2 separate regions of the Homo sapiens genome follow, and region 1 is linked to region 2. The links are contacts of gene promoters, found by promoter capture Hi-C in human tissues and cell types (Jung and others, 2019). All regions are on one chromosome and are shown on one strand. Each heading gives the region's core, a stretch centred on a gene start or on the middle of the fragment in contact. The rest is flanking DNA. Distances are from core to core; before and after follow the strand shown. Region 1 holds the start of SNHG6 (small nucleolar RNA host gene 6). Region 2 holds the start of SGK3 (serum/glucocorticoid regulated kinase family member 3).

Region 1 (6,642 bases), core at 3,173-5,672, 210 kb before region 2:
CAAAGGCTTCAACAGAAAAAGAGAGAGAGGAAGAGGAAGAGGAGAAGGAAGAGAGGAGAAGGAGGAAGAGGAAGAAGAGGAGGAGGAGGAAGTGGAGGAGGAGGAAGAAGAAGAGGAGGAGGAAGAAGAGGAGGAGGAGAAGAGGAAGAGGAAGAAGACAGGGGCCTGGTGTAGTGGCTCACATCTGTAATCCCAGCATTTCGGGAGGCCAAGGCAGGCGGATCACTTGAGGCAAGGAGTTTGAGCCCAGCCTGGACAACATGGTGAAACCCCATGTCTACTAAAAATACAAAAATTAGCCAGGCTTCATGGCAGGCGCCTGTAGTCCCAGCTACTCGGGAGGCTGAGGCAGGAGAATTGCTTAAACCCAGGAGGCAGAGGTTGCAGTGAGCTGAGATCCTGCCACTGCACTCCAGCCTGGGCAACAGTGCGAGACTCTGTCTCAAAAAACAAACAAACAAACAAAAAACAGAAAAAAAAATTGTGGTATACTCAGATAAGGGAATACCATTCAGCAATAAAAAGGAATTAACTATTGTAACACACAACCACATGGATGAATCTCAAAATAATTATGCTGAGTGAAAGCAGCCAGACCAAAACACAGTGCATACTGGCCCATCAAATTGTATAGATTAAATATGTGCAGTTTTTTGTATGTCAATAATACCTCAATAACACTGTAAATAAAGTATATTCTGAATGATTTCATTTAAACTAGTTATAGAAAAAGCAAATTGATCTATAGTGACAGAAAACAAATCAGTGGTTCCCTGGTGCAGTTGAGGGGAGTGATGTGAGGGTGACTTTTGGATTAGGGAATGAAGAAATGTTTAGGGATGATGAATATGCTGATTATTTTGAATGTGGTGATGGTTTCACAGGTGATGGTTTCACATATGTCAAAACTTATCTGATTTTTCATTTTCAATATGTGCAGTTTTTGTATGTCAATAAAGCTATGCTAAAGAAAAGCTATTTTTGCTTTTGTAACAGAAGTGGAACTGGAAATCTGTACCCATTCTTTGTCAGAATTCCTCTATCTTTCATCATATCCTTGTAATCTTCTCTCACTTTGAATAGTAATGAGAACTGAGCTCATGGATTCACAGCAATACGCTCACACTTTAAAGTTTCCCCTGTGTGCAGGCACTATTAGCAGCCCACCAAACAGGCGTCTCCCTTCCCTTTCTGTCAGAGTCCACTTTCCCATATTATAAGCTGATAATGCCTGGACTTGTAACCCAATCAAGGCCAGTGAGACCTGAAAACAAGTCTACTGTGGGCATTCTGGGGAAGATTTTCCAACCTGGTTAAAAGAGAAACATGTGAAATGTCCCTCCTTCCCACCTTTGAATGTTGTTATATGAAGACATAGCTGGGTGCAGTGACTCACGCCTGTAACCCAGCACTTTGGGAGGCCAGGGCAGGTGGATCACTTGAGGTCAGGAGTTCGAGACCAGCCTGGTCAACATGATAAAACCCCATCTCTACTAAAAATACAAAAATTAGCTGGGTGTGGCGGGAGGCACCTGTAATCCCAGCTACTCTGGAGGCTGAGGCAGGAGAATAGCTTGAACCCAGGAGGTAGAGGTTGCAGTGAGCCAAGATCCTGCCACTGCACGCCAGCCTGGGCAACAGAGCAAGACTGTCTCAAAAAAAAAAAAAAAAAGAAAAAAGATATGATGTTTACAGCTATGGGAGGCTTTTTGCAACTATGAAGGGAAAACCAAGAATCTCAGAGAATTCAACCAGCAACCCTGACAGTGTTTTCCTGCTAAATCAATCAACCCGAGAGCCATCTACCTCTGGATTTCTTGTAATATAGAATAATATACTCCTCATTTTCCAGAAGCTACTTTAGTTGCATATTTTGTTACTTGCAGTTGAAAACATACATTTAATGACATTATTAATTAAAGTAACTGACATAAGATGATAACCTGAAATGGGTGGCTGCACAGTTTTGGCAACATCTAAATTTTAGTCAAGATATTTAATTATATCCTTTCTGAAGAAAGAACATAGTAAGTCAATAAGGCAGTGGCCCCTTCCTAATCTGTCCACCCGGCTCAGCTATTTCTTCCCAGTAGAGGTCAATGAATGCCCTGTGAATGCCTGCAGGAGACAACACAAAGCTGTTAGCAACGCAGGAGCTATCCTCTCTGGAACCATGGCAGGGGAATTGTCCATGTTTGCCTCCAGTTATCATATGGCCCTGCACTCAGTGACACCAAGAACTTGCCTAAATTGTTGCCTTAGCATCTATGGATTTAATGTCCAAACTAACTCTCACTTATACCTTTTAGTAATGGTGGCTCCCACAGCTTCCCCTTCACACTGGAGGTGACAGCCCAGGTTGCAAAATTAGGTTGTGGAAGCAACATCCAGCCAGGAATCTTAGTCCAAGAAGCAGGTTGAGGTCCATGTCACTACTTAACAGGAGAAACGGCTTCCATTTGGAGGCCCAAGCAAAGATTTTTAAGCTCCTGTAAAATACTTTGCAATCCTTTGTTAAAGGAGGTACAATCACAATTTGTTTTGCTAGGCTTACTAGGCTTAGATATTCATACTCTATGTTACTTGAGACAAATTGAAATTTTGTACCGGATTTTGTATTCGTTTCTTAGATTTCCGGTGTCTAAAGGAGAGATTGGCCAGGCGCTGTGGCTCATGCCTGTAATCCCAGCACTTTGAGAAGCCAAGTCGAGAGGATAGCTTAAGGCCAGGAGTTGGAGGCCAGCCTGGCCAACATAGTGAGACCCCCGCATTTCTACGAAACGTTTTAAAAATTAGCAGGGCATGGTGGTGAGCATTTAGCTACTCAAGACTGAGGTGGGAGAATCTCTTGAGGATCCTAGAAGATGGAAGCTGCTATGAGCCATGACTGCACTACTGCACTCCAGGCTGAGCAACAGAGGGAGACCCTGTCTCTAAAAACAAAACCAACCAACCAAAACACAAAAACAAATTGGCCGGGCGCAGTGGCTCACACCTGTAATTCCAGCACTTTGGGAGGCCGAGGCAGGCAGATCACGAGGTAAGGAGATGGAGTCCATCCTGGCTAACACGGTGAAACCCCGGATCTACTGAAAATACAACAAAATTAGCTGGGCGTGGTGGCGGGCGTCTGTAGTCCCAGCTACTCGAGAGGCTGAGGCAGAAGAATGGCGTGAACCCGGGAGGCGGAGCTTGCAGTGAGCTGAAATCGAGCCACTGCACTCCAGCCTGGGCGACAGAGAGAGACTCCGCCTCAAAACAAAACAAAAGCCAAAAATATTAAGGAGAGATGACCTATCTTTAAGTGAGTAGATTGTTTAATCATATGCTTTCATGTGTATTCTTTCTGGCAACAAGATCATAAGCCTTTCTGCTCCAGCATCAAGCCCAGTGCTTTGCAGTCAGGATTCTATAATACAATGAGAAAAACAGAAGTAATAAGACGTGAAAATCAACAGCAAATTATAACATGTTCATAAACAAGGTAGGTAACTGCTTTATGAATGCTATATATATGTTTTTTGGTTTGTTTGTTTGTTTTGAGACGGAGCCTTACCCAGGCTAGAGTGCAGTGGCGCGATCTTGGCTCACTGCAACCTCCGCTGCCCGGGTTCAAGCGATTTCTCGTGCCTCAGCTTCCGGGTAGCTGGGACTACAGGCACGCGTCACCACAATCGGCCAATTTTTTTGTATTTTTAGTAGAGATGGGGGTTTCACCATGTTGGCCAGGCTGGTCTCGAACTCCTGACATCGGGTGATCCTCCCGCCTAGGCCTCCCAAAGGGCTGGGATTACAGGCTTGAGCCACCGCGCCCGGCCTTTTAGGGCATATTCTGCTCGTTTGCATCCACTGCAAACTGGTAAATTAAACATTGACTAGCTCTAGCAGAGTTACTCCTGAGCCTGAAAAGCCCCTGCGGGAAGTCACAAAGCCCCCACATAAACTTGCTGTGTGGCACACAGCGTCGCCGCACCGCGCAACCAGGGAAGAGGGCTAAGGTGCGGGTCTCATCTCCCCTCCGCCCCCTCCCCAGAGCCGGTGCACTCAGCCCCCCTTCGCACCCGCGGAGGGGCGGGGCCGCGTACCGGAAGAGGCGGGGCCACCGGAGTGCCTAAGAGCTGTCTTCCGATGTCGCTCTTCCTTTCCCGCGCGACCGGCGAGGGAGGAAGAAGCGCGAAGAGCCGTTAGTCATGCCGGTGTGGTGGCGGCGGCGGAGACTGCGGGCCCGTAGCTGGGCTCTGCGAGGTGAGAGTGATCGCGGTCTTAGGTCCAACTCCTCTACGTGCCGGGTTCCTCCGCCATATGGGTGCCCAGCGCGGCCCCTGTCCCTTCCCCGGGCGCAGCGGAGCGGGCGGCTGCTGCGTAGGCCAAAAGGCTACGCTCCCGGTGCCCCCAAGGCCCACGAGCTTTCCCCACAAGCCATTTGCGCAGTCGCGTTTTGTGAGTAACCACCTGGAAGGCTTAGCTGACCTTTCTCCGTCAACACCGGTTCGCTGTCCTCTGCTCAGAAACTGGGCAAGGGCCTTCTGACTTAAGGAGGTGCCTGCAAGGGACCGTCGGGAGGCTTCGTGCTCCACCCGGTCTTGGCCAGATCTCTCTTGTGTCCCCAGCAAAGTTGTGCGTGCGGCCTTGGCGGTTTCAGGCTCTTAGGCAGCTTGTTTTCCTTAAAAGGGAGCGTTTTATAAATAGGAAGGTGATTATCCCTTAGGTGTCAGGACGACCCTTAGTTAACCGTACTTTGTGAGTGGCTTTGAAACTGTAATGAGCGCAGTTTACTGAGTCATTACTAGTCTCGACCCATTCGTAGAGCTAGTCAGTATTTGTTCCTGGACCTTCCTTCGTAATACGCGCTAAAGTCAAGGCATGGAGGTTGGAGAACAACACGTGCAAGTATAGGAGGCCCTTAGGCTAAATGCCTGCTACACACGGAGATGCTTGTATTTACATAGAGATGTGTATTTCTGGACATAATACAGAAGAAACCGGTCAGCAACTGGGAGGCTGGGAAAACCTGTTAGCTATTCAGAAACTTTTTTTTTTTTTTTTTTGAGCCAGAGTCTGTTCTGTCGCCCAGGGTGGAGTGCAGTGACGCGATCTTGGCTCACTGAATCCTCCACCTCCCGGGGTTCAAGCAGTTCTCTGCCTCAGCCTCCCGAGTAGCTGGGATTACAGGCGCCTGCCACCACGCCCGGCTAATTTTTGTATTTCTAGTAGAGACGGGGTTTCACCATCTGGCCAGGCTGGTCTTGAACTCCTGACCAGCCTGACCACTCGTGATCCACCCGCCTAGGCCTCTCAAAGTGCTGGGATTATAGGCGTGAGTTACCGCGCCCGGCCATAGAAACAAATTTTAAAATTTCATCAGTGAGACTTCGTATAGGTTTTTTTTTTTCTTCAAATTTGAAATGCATTGCTTCGTCTGAAATAATCATTAACTGTCAAGAAGACGAATGTCATGGCTTATCCTTGAAATATTTTAGGTATTATTATTTTTGAGGCTTCAGTAGCTTGAATTCTGTTTTCACTGGTAAGTGCTGGGACTTCTAAAAATTTTCAAACTAAATAATTGATAAAATTGGTAGTGCAGGAAAGTTCTGAAGCATAATACAAAAGAATCCACCGATACATTTGAGAACTATAATATTACCAATACTAGGGTATCTATTGTTTACATTTCCCTGCTTCCTATTCATAGGTACCCACCATTTGGAATTTTGTGCCCATCAGTCTTTTGGGTTTTGTGGGGGAGGGGGGTGGTGTGGATAGCTTTGTGGGGTTTTTTGTTGCTTTTTTGAGATGGATTCTCATTCCTGTCGTGCAGGCTGGAGTGCAGTGGCGCGATGTCAGCACACTGCAACCTCCATCTCCCAGGTTCAAGCGATTCTCCTTCCTCAGCCTCCCGAGTAGCTAGGATTACAGGCACCCACCATCATGCCCAGTTAATTATTGTATTTTTAGTGGAGATGGGGTTTGGCCAGGCTGGTCTAGAACTCCTGACCTCAGGTGATCCACCCGCCCCGACCCCACAAAGTGCTAGGATTACAGGCGGGAGACACCGTGTCCGGCCCATTTTTTAAGCTTTGTAAAGACAGGATTATGCATGTAGTTGTCTGTAGTTCCTGTGAATCATAATATTAAACTGAAACTTTTTTTGTTTCAGTTAATTTTTTTTGAATTATTCAAAACCAGTAGTTTATATTCCTAATACTGATTGTGTGAAACATTTTCAGCATTTCAGCACATGAAAATGATTGTTTTTGCAAGCTCCAACCTTGTATGTCTTCATAAATCATTTCGTATTGCTGCCTGGCTCAATGATTTATTCTCCTGGGCTGCTGTATGACATGATTTTTTGCCCCAGTCCATGTTCTTTGCAGTTTTTAGTTAACTTGGGACTTAATTTTACAGGAATGTGTCCAGTAAAAATGCCAATATAGGTATCCCTGCTCTGAAACTGCTAGGTTTGCCGTTATAATGTTTTTAGGTGAAGGTCTTCACGTTAGTTTTTATACATCTAACCTGGCTCATAGCTCATCCTTGTCGAGCTGTGAGACAGAAAAGCAACGGCTGTGTACTCACTATGACCATTATGTCTTAAAATCAAAACTGCCACAGTGAAGGATATCATGAAATGTTTCCACC
Region 2 (7,485 bases), core at 2,803-5,302:
TACAAAGTAACTCTGCCCACCAATATCACATCATGCCAAGAGATGTTTCTAGTTCTTCTCAAACTTTCATTTCATATAGGTCTTTCCTATATGTATGGCCCTGTTAGGAGAAGCACAGCTGCACTGCACAGGAATCCTCTGCCACAAGACCTCACTAACATCACTTACTTCACACACATCTCCATTTTCCGTCTTACATATTATCAGTCCCTCATCCTCTAACAATTCCCCTTGTATCTTCATGTTTCTTTCAGTCACCCCCAACCCCCCCGCCCAAAGAAAGCAGATTTTGCTTTAGCGTAATAGAAGAACAGTGGCCACCAGGAGGTGAACTTAGGCAGGTTTTCAGGACTTTGTCCAATTTCTCAAGTCCTTTACTATTTCTCCAAAGGCAAGGATACTGCACACTGCCCTAATTCCCTTTGAAAACCCTCTAGCTCAGCTTCAGACAGCCAATACAATTTTACTGGGTGACGCTTTGAATTGGCCTTCAACATCTGATTTCCACATTGTCTTCCTCGGCAATGACAACTGAAAGTTAGCATTGAGTTAAAACTACTTTGACGTGAACTACAAGATGCGGAAGTAGCACCTCTTAGATTTACCACTTTTCTCCATGATACTGGGCAGGGGAGAGTGAAATGAGAGCAAAGTCTCCACCATGAGAAATGGAAAAGGTAAAGGAAAACAGAGACACTGAGTCGCTTAAAATAATATGGGAGCTGTTACATCTGTCAGGAATAACATGTTACATAAGTTGAGTTTCATGAATCAGCAGTTTAGTCAGTAATTTACATTAATTTTTTTCAAAAAGAGAAAACATGAGAACTGGAAAAGGTAAAGTGGTTTCTGAAACAAGACAGGTTTCAAAGGTATTTTATTCCACTCCCACACAGAAGAACGTTGACAGGCAGATGACTCAGTCTGGCTTCATTAAGGGTTTCTTACTGCCTAATACACCTCATGGGAAAGGCCATCCCATCTCTCATATCTCCCTGATAACTCTTCTCAATTCCTCCTGCCAGGTAATGGCCATATTATCCCCTCTAATTGAAGGTTATCCACCTGGAAATCACATACTTTAGGTACCAAGGGCTATACTTAAAGCATATAAATAGTTGAGGAATTTTGTGTGTGTTTTTAAAGACCCTTTATGCTAAATTCATTGCAACATTTCAATAAAACACATAGTTTTATTTCAAAAATATTTACAATACCTATGATCATTGAGTTTGAACTTGATCATAAATCTAAGTAGTTTAGAAAGATAAGAAAGCTGTGGCCAGGCACGGTGGCTCACGCCTGTAATCCCAACACTTTGGGAGGCCAAGGCAGGCTGATCATGTCAGGGGTTTGATAATAGCCTGGCCAACATGGTGAAACCCTGTCTCTACTAAAAACACAAAAATTAGCCAGGTATGGGGGCATGCACCTGTAGCCCCAGCTACTCGGGAGGCTGAGGCAGGAGAATCGCTTGAACCCGGGAGGCGGAGGTTGCAGTGAGCCTAGGCTGCGCCATTGCACTCCAGCCTGGGCAACAGAGCAAGACTCTGTCTCAAAAAAAAAACAAAGAAAGAAAGAAAGAAAGCAAGCTGTCAACATAAACATAAATACCATGTGTCCGTTCTAAACTCTCAAAACTAGAGAAAAAAGGTAGGATGAAAAAAATACCCAACCTATTTTCTTTTTCAAAAACCAGAGGTGGCAAATCTTAAGAAATAAGTCCAAAGGGATTCCCATCCTTTTTGTAGAAAATGTGCTGTATTAGATACTGTCTGAAATGAGAGAGGCATTGGATTAGGCCTGGAAATCTCTCAGGCATAAATCAATTACTACGGTATTTTGAGAGACATGTTTTGAAAGAGCAAGATATCTGAAGCCATTTGGAGTCATTCATTCCACAGATGTTTATTACAGGCCTGCACGTGCCAGGCACTGTCCACACACCTGCCCTCCATTCAAGCTCTGCCTCTCACCTGCTGTGCAATCCAGGCTAAAGCACTTTAACATTTCCATGCCTCAGTTTCTTCATCTGTAAAAACAGGTAATAAAAAGTAATTAAGAGATCAACCATACAAGATCTCTCTGAAAGGTAAAGGAGTATGTCTGGAAGCACTTTGTAAGCCATGAAAATGCTAGGGGTCATCCGACTAAACTGAATTCACAAATGACACTAATGCCTGTTGTGTCATAAATTATTAATATATCAGAGGAACATGAGCCTTCTTGCTTCAAGAGACACTTCATAATCCTATTAAATAAGGCTTATCGGCTCACTTAATCATCTCTCTGAAAAGTTAAATATATGAGAGAGAGATAAGGGAGGGGGGCACAGAAAGGGAGTGAGGGAGTCAGAAAGCTAGTCTGATGTGCAGATTTTGACATTACATTCATAGTCACAATAACAAGAATCATGTCTATCTTAGTCACCACATTGGGTCTCTAATGGTGCACATTTGAAGAGGGCATGTTATTCTGAAAAAATATTCTCTGCATATCTGCAAATCACAAAAGGTACACCTATGAGGCTGACCTACCAATTCAATGTTTCCAAGAGCAAATAGCAGTAAAATTACAAAACGTTATTTGTTATGTTGATGTGTGCAAACAAAAATGTTCTATTTTATAGTACATTTCAAGTTCAATCTGACCCTCATATCTAAACTATGTCATATAAATAATGTCATATAAACAGTGTCGAACAGATCAGGAACAAAGCTCTTTTCAAAAACAAAAGTAGGCTCCATGCAGTGGCAGTTAAAGAAGGGGAAGTTCTGGTGTCTCCAGAGTTAGCCGATGGGCACAACGGCAGTTGAAAGAGACCATGTTACACAAGTCATTCAGGTTCTGGCCAACATCTGCTTTGAACAGGTCGCATTCCCAGGAGCTCCAGGCTCCCTTACCCCAGGGAAATGCTGGGGTGGTGGCTTGTCTTACAGAAGTGGTAGCCAAGGGGACCAGAAGGCACACCCGGTGCTAAAACATGCCTAAAACTTCCTCTAATGTTTACAGCTCTTCCAATGACATTTGGGGAACTAAAGTATGGATAGCCTCTTCATTGCTAGAACCGCTATAATATGATAAGTTAAGAATTTGATTTAATATTTATAAAGAACTTAGAAAGAGCCCAGCGCATAGTAAGGGCTATGTAAGTGTTTGGTAAATAAAAAAAGGCACCTCCCAGATTGGCTGGGTGAAGTCTCAATCTGGTGAGAAGGGAGAGAATCAAAATACACAACAGTCTATTTTTCACTTTGACAAAAGATTTAGAAATTACAGTGCTCTGTATTTATTTTGCACCCAAGTGCACACTAAGTAGTCTCTGGTGCAGGACTGAAATTCTACTCATGGTTCAGAAGTCACTGTGCACAACTCAATGAAAGCGTTTTAAGTTTCAAGAGATGATTCCTTTCTCTTTTCTCTTTCCAAGTAACGATGACTAAAAATGACAGAATCTAAAAATCTCAAAGCACTTCTTGTGGGTACATTCCAAAGCTAAAACTGTGAGAATTAATAGGGCCAGATTCACTTGAAGAGACGTAAGGGTTCAAATTACAGAGAACTTAAAAGACGCAACGTATTAAGGTCTTTTACTACAGATCCGCTGACAACAGGTTAAACGATTCCATCCACCCCACTCTGGCGGCTGCCCCCTCCCCGACCCTCGCAGGTGACCTGCACCCACTTTCGACCTCAGATAGGGTCTCCCTGCTCGGCGTTCCCAGTTCCTCCAGGCTCGGCGGCTGCGTGGGGGTTAACAAGGTCCAGCCACCGACGCCCCTTGGGCGTTTAGGAATCTCGAGGCAGGATCTGAATTCACCTCGTGGAAACAAAGACCACAAACTCTCCGGGAGCCGGGGGCTGGGCGGAGGTACGGCTTTTTCCGAGGACAGGCAGCGGCCGAGGCCCGGGCAGCCCTCGCCCCGCCCCGTCTCCTCCCGCCCCGGGCCGCCGTCGGAGTCCCGGGCGCGCGGACCCTCCCGCCGGCCCCGCACCTACCTGGCCCCGCGGTGCTGCTCCCGGCGCGGCGGGCGCGGAGCCGAACGCACTGCGCTTCCTCCTTCCCGGCAGGGCCGCCGGGCGCCGGCGTTTCCTCCTTGACGCGTCACGGCCGCTGGCGGCTCCTCCCGCGGAGCGCGCGGGAGGCCGAGGACAGCCGGGGAAGGCGCCGGATCCCAGCAGAGCGGCGCGAGCGGCGGGCCGGGGGCAGCCCGTGCGGGGAGGGGCTGCAGGCTGCGTCCCGCTCAGGCCTCCGAGGAAACCCGCGCTCCTCTCTCTTCCCCGAGGACCCCCGCGAAAGGCCGGGCCACGGTGCACCGTCTGCCCCCGTCACGCGCTGTGCAAAGTTCAAGAGGACACAGTGGGTCCTGTCTGGAGTCACAGACTCTGGTGTTTCCCTCTGCTCCGCCCGCAGTGGCCGCTACCCTGGGGCCCAAGACCGGCGCGGGCCAGAGCGCCGGGGCCCAACAGAGATGACCTGGTGTGTGCAGGGATCAGGACCCCCCGGGTGGGCCCGTGGTGTTGGGGGGGTTGGCTTGGTGTAAACTGGAAACTCAGAGGAGTGAATTAAATATCCAAATAATTGAGAACAACTGTGATTCATTTAGCATTATTTGGACAGTTTTCCACTTTTGTCATTAGCAGAGTTACGGCCCTTGTGTTTATAAACAGTCGAGAACTTTCACAAATTGGCAGATCCTGTGTGCAGAGAAATTTCCTTTCCACACATCTTTTTAGATCTACTGACTCTTTTTTTTATTCCCATTAATCTCCAAGTCAGCTGAGTGCACACTTTACAGCTCCTTATTACTCATTCTTGAATTACAGAAGCTGCGTTTTAGATCTGTTTATCTCTTTTAACAGATAGAGAAGCTGAGTGGAGAACTAAGAATTACATGGTTCAATGGATGTGGAGTCAAGTGGTTAAGATTTTGAAGTAGAGTGGGTTGTTTTCTTCGTCCCACAACACTACTGTAATTTAGGTCTTATCAGATATCACTTGAAGATAGACTCAGACAAGTACTTAAAGATTCCCATGTGCATATCATGCCTTAGATTTTGAGACAATGATTTGTACTTTAGATCATATGATTCCAGAGAATTTGCCACAAATCTATGAACAAATAAACTGCCAAAGGTTATTAGAGGAACTGGGATCTATGTGTGACTTCCCTAAATTCAGAAGACATTTCCTCATGTTTTAAAATGATATTCAAAGATTTAGCCCCACAAGTATGGGTTAGGACATTCATTTTTAATGTCAATAACCACAATGTGGCCTCTCTTTAAAAAGTGGATTGTGAATCCAAATACTTTTTGTACTTCAGTAATCCTACAGAACTTTCTAAACAGTAGTTTTCAGAAATGAATATAAGAATGCAGTAGATACAAAACAATACATTGCCGGTGGTCCTTTATATGTTTTACTGTGGTCCACAAAGCAATCCACATACATTAGAGGAGTTCTTCCCTTGTAACAAAATCAACAAGTGATGAGTGTATCTCTTAATTAAAGCCATATTCACAGTGCTGAAGATTTCTCAGACAAAAGGAAGTTCTGTGTCAATAAACTCCAAGTGGAATAACATCATTCTCACTTTAGAGACAAATACCTGGCTATCACCACATCTTGACTTTTTAAAAAAATAAACATCTGGGAACCATTACATTTCTAGATAAATTTGTCCTATTGTGAAGAACACACACACACACACACACACACACACACACACACACACACACAGAGATCACCTCCCACAAACATTTTATGTATTTTCTTTTTTTTTTTGAGACGAGACGGTCTCACTGTGTTGCCCAGGCTGGGTTCATTTGATCAACAGACAACATGTTAGGCATTTTGCCTTTACAATCTGAGAGCTGCAATTTAATAGCTAGATTTTGCAAAAAGCTAGAGGAGGTAAATATATTCACAAACTACTAAGGACTTTTTCACTGTAATTAAATTAGTTTTTTTTTTTTTTTTTTTTTTTGAGATGGAGTCTCACTTTTGTTGCCCAGGCTGGAGTGCAATGGCACAATCTCAGGTCATTCCAACCTCCTCCAACTTCCGGTTTCAAGCGATTCTCCTGCGTCAGCCTCCCGAGTAGCTGTGATTACAGGTGCCTGCCACCACGCCCAGCTAATGTTTTGTATCTTTAGTAGAGACAGATTTTCGCCATGTTGGCCAGGATGGTCTTGAACGCCTGACCTCAGGTGAGCCACCCGCCTTGGCCTCCCAAAGTGCTGGGATTACAGGCGTGAGCCACCATGCCCAGTCTAAAATTGGTTTTAAGGGCAAATTTTAAGGCTGATCACTTTGTTGTTGTTGTTGTTGTTGTTTTGGTTTTTTTTTTTTTTTTTGAGACAGGGTCTCACTCTGTCACCCAGACTGGAGTGCAGTGGCGTGATCTCGGCTGACCGCAACCTCTGCCTCCCAGGCTCAAGCAATTCTCCTGCCTCAGCCTCCCCAGTAGCTGGGATTACAAGTGTGCGCCACCACGCCCGGCTAATTTTTGTATTTTTAGTAGAGACAGGGTTTCACCATGTTGGCCAGGCTGGTCTTGAACTCCTGACCTCAAATGATCCACCTGCTTCAGCCTCCCAAAGTGCTGGGATTACAGGCTTCAGCCACCGCACCTGGCTAAGGCTGATCACTTTGATTAATTGTGTTCACCTATTGATAGAGATATAGGTTATATCCCCATTTTCTGTTATGTTTCCAAGTTTAGACTGTAAAAAAAAAAGTTGTTGAATGTTCAGCTAAATGTCTAGCTGATGTTTATACCTTTATGAAATATTTCATGTAAATAAATTTTAAAAATAGAGCTTTTTATCAGACTATGGGTCCCAATACTTTCTTTGAAAATATGATTCTGTTCATTCAGATAGAGCAAATATTTTGTTCATCTGTTTTATCTATAGTGTAGAGATTTTGAACACAAGCTTTGGAATTGGACAGACCCAGGTTTAACTCCTGGTTTGCCACTTCCTACTTTGGGCAAATTGTTTCACTTCTCTGAGCACCGGTTTCATCAGTAACCTGGGGATAATAGTGCTTTTTCCTCTTCAGTAAAACGGAGATAATAGTGCTAATCTCATGAAATTGCTATGAGGATCAAATGAATTTAGTAGAATGCCTGGAACATAATACCAAGTGACTGCTATCTTCATCATTATTAGCTCTAAAACATATATTAAAATGCCAATATTATATATGTTTTATTTGTAATAGTATTAAAATGGCCAGATTTTAGAAATTTTGGCGGTGGCTCACGCCTGTAATCCCAGCACTTTGGGAGGTCAAGCCGGATGGATCACGAGGTCAGGAGTTTGAGATCAGCCTGGCCAACATAATGAAACCCCGTGTCTACTAAAAATACAAAAAATTAGCCAGGTGTGGTGGTGGGCACCTGTAATCCCAGCTACTTGGGAGGCTGAGGCAGGAGAATCACTTGAACCTGGGAGGTGGAGGTAGCAGTGAGCTGA

Evidence for each region. Contacts are between HindIII fragments. The study calls those that stand out against the background at their distance.
Region 1: a fragment that was not itself captured here is called in contact with the fragment with the promoter of SGK3 in region 2 in 1 of the 25 tissues and cell types used here (thymus).

The regions. Positions count from the first base shown.
Region 1 is chr8:66,923,040-66,929,681 of GRCh38, reverse strand. It overlaps SNHG6 (small nucleolar RNA host gene 6), which reads left to right and starts at 4,141. Exons shown (of 4, transcript NR_152600.1): 1 at 4,141-4,245. It also overlaps a transcript of MCMDC2 not described here. RefSeq lists a silencer at 3,970-4,169 and an enhancer at 3,162-4,361. The HindIII fragment of the contact is 7,268 bases long and covers 789-6,642 here.
Region 2 is chr8:66,709,348-66,716,832 of GRCh38, reverse strand. SGK3 (serum/glucocorticoid regulated kinase family member 3) reads right to left here and starts at 4,052. Exons shown (of 17, transcript NM_001033578.3): 1 at 4,000-4,052. All of the region lies in intron 3 of C8orf44-SGK3 (C8orf44-SGK3 readthrough), which reads right to left. RefSeq lists a silencer at 3,874-4,343. The HindIII fragment of the contact is 13,282 bases long and covers 1-7,485 here.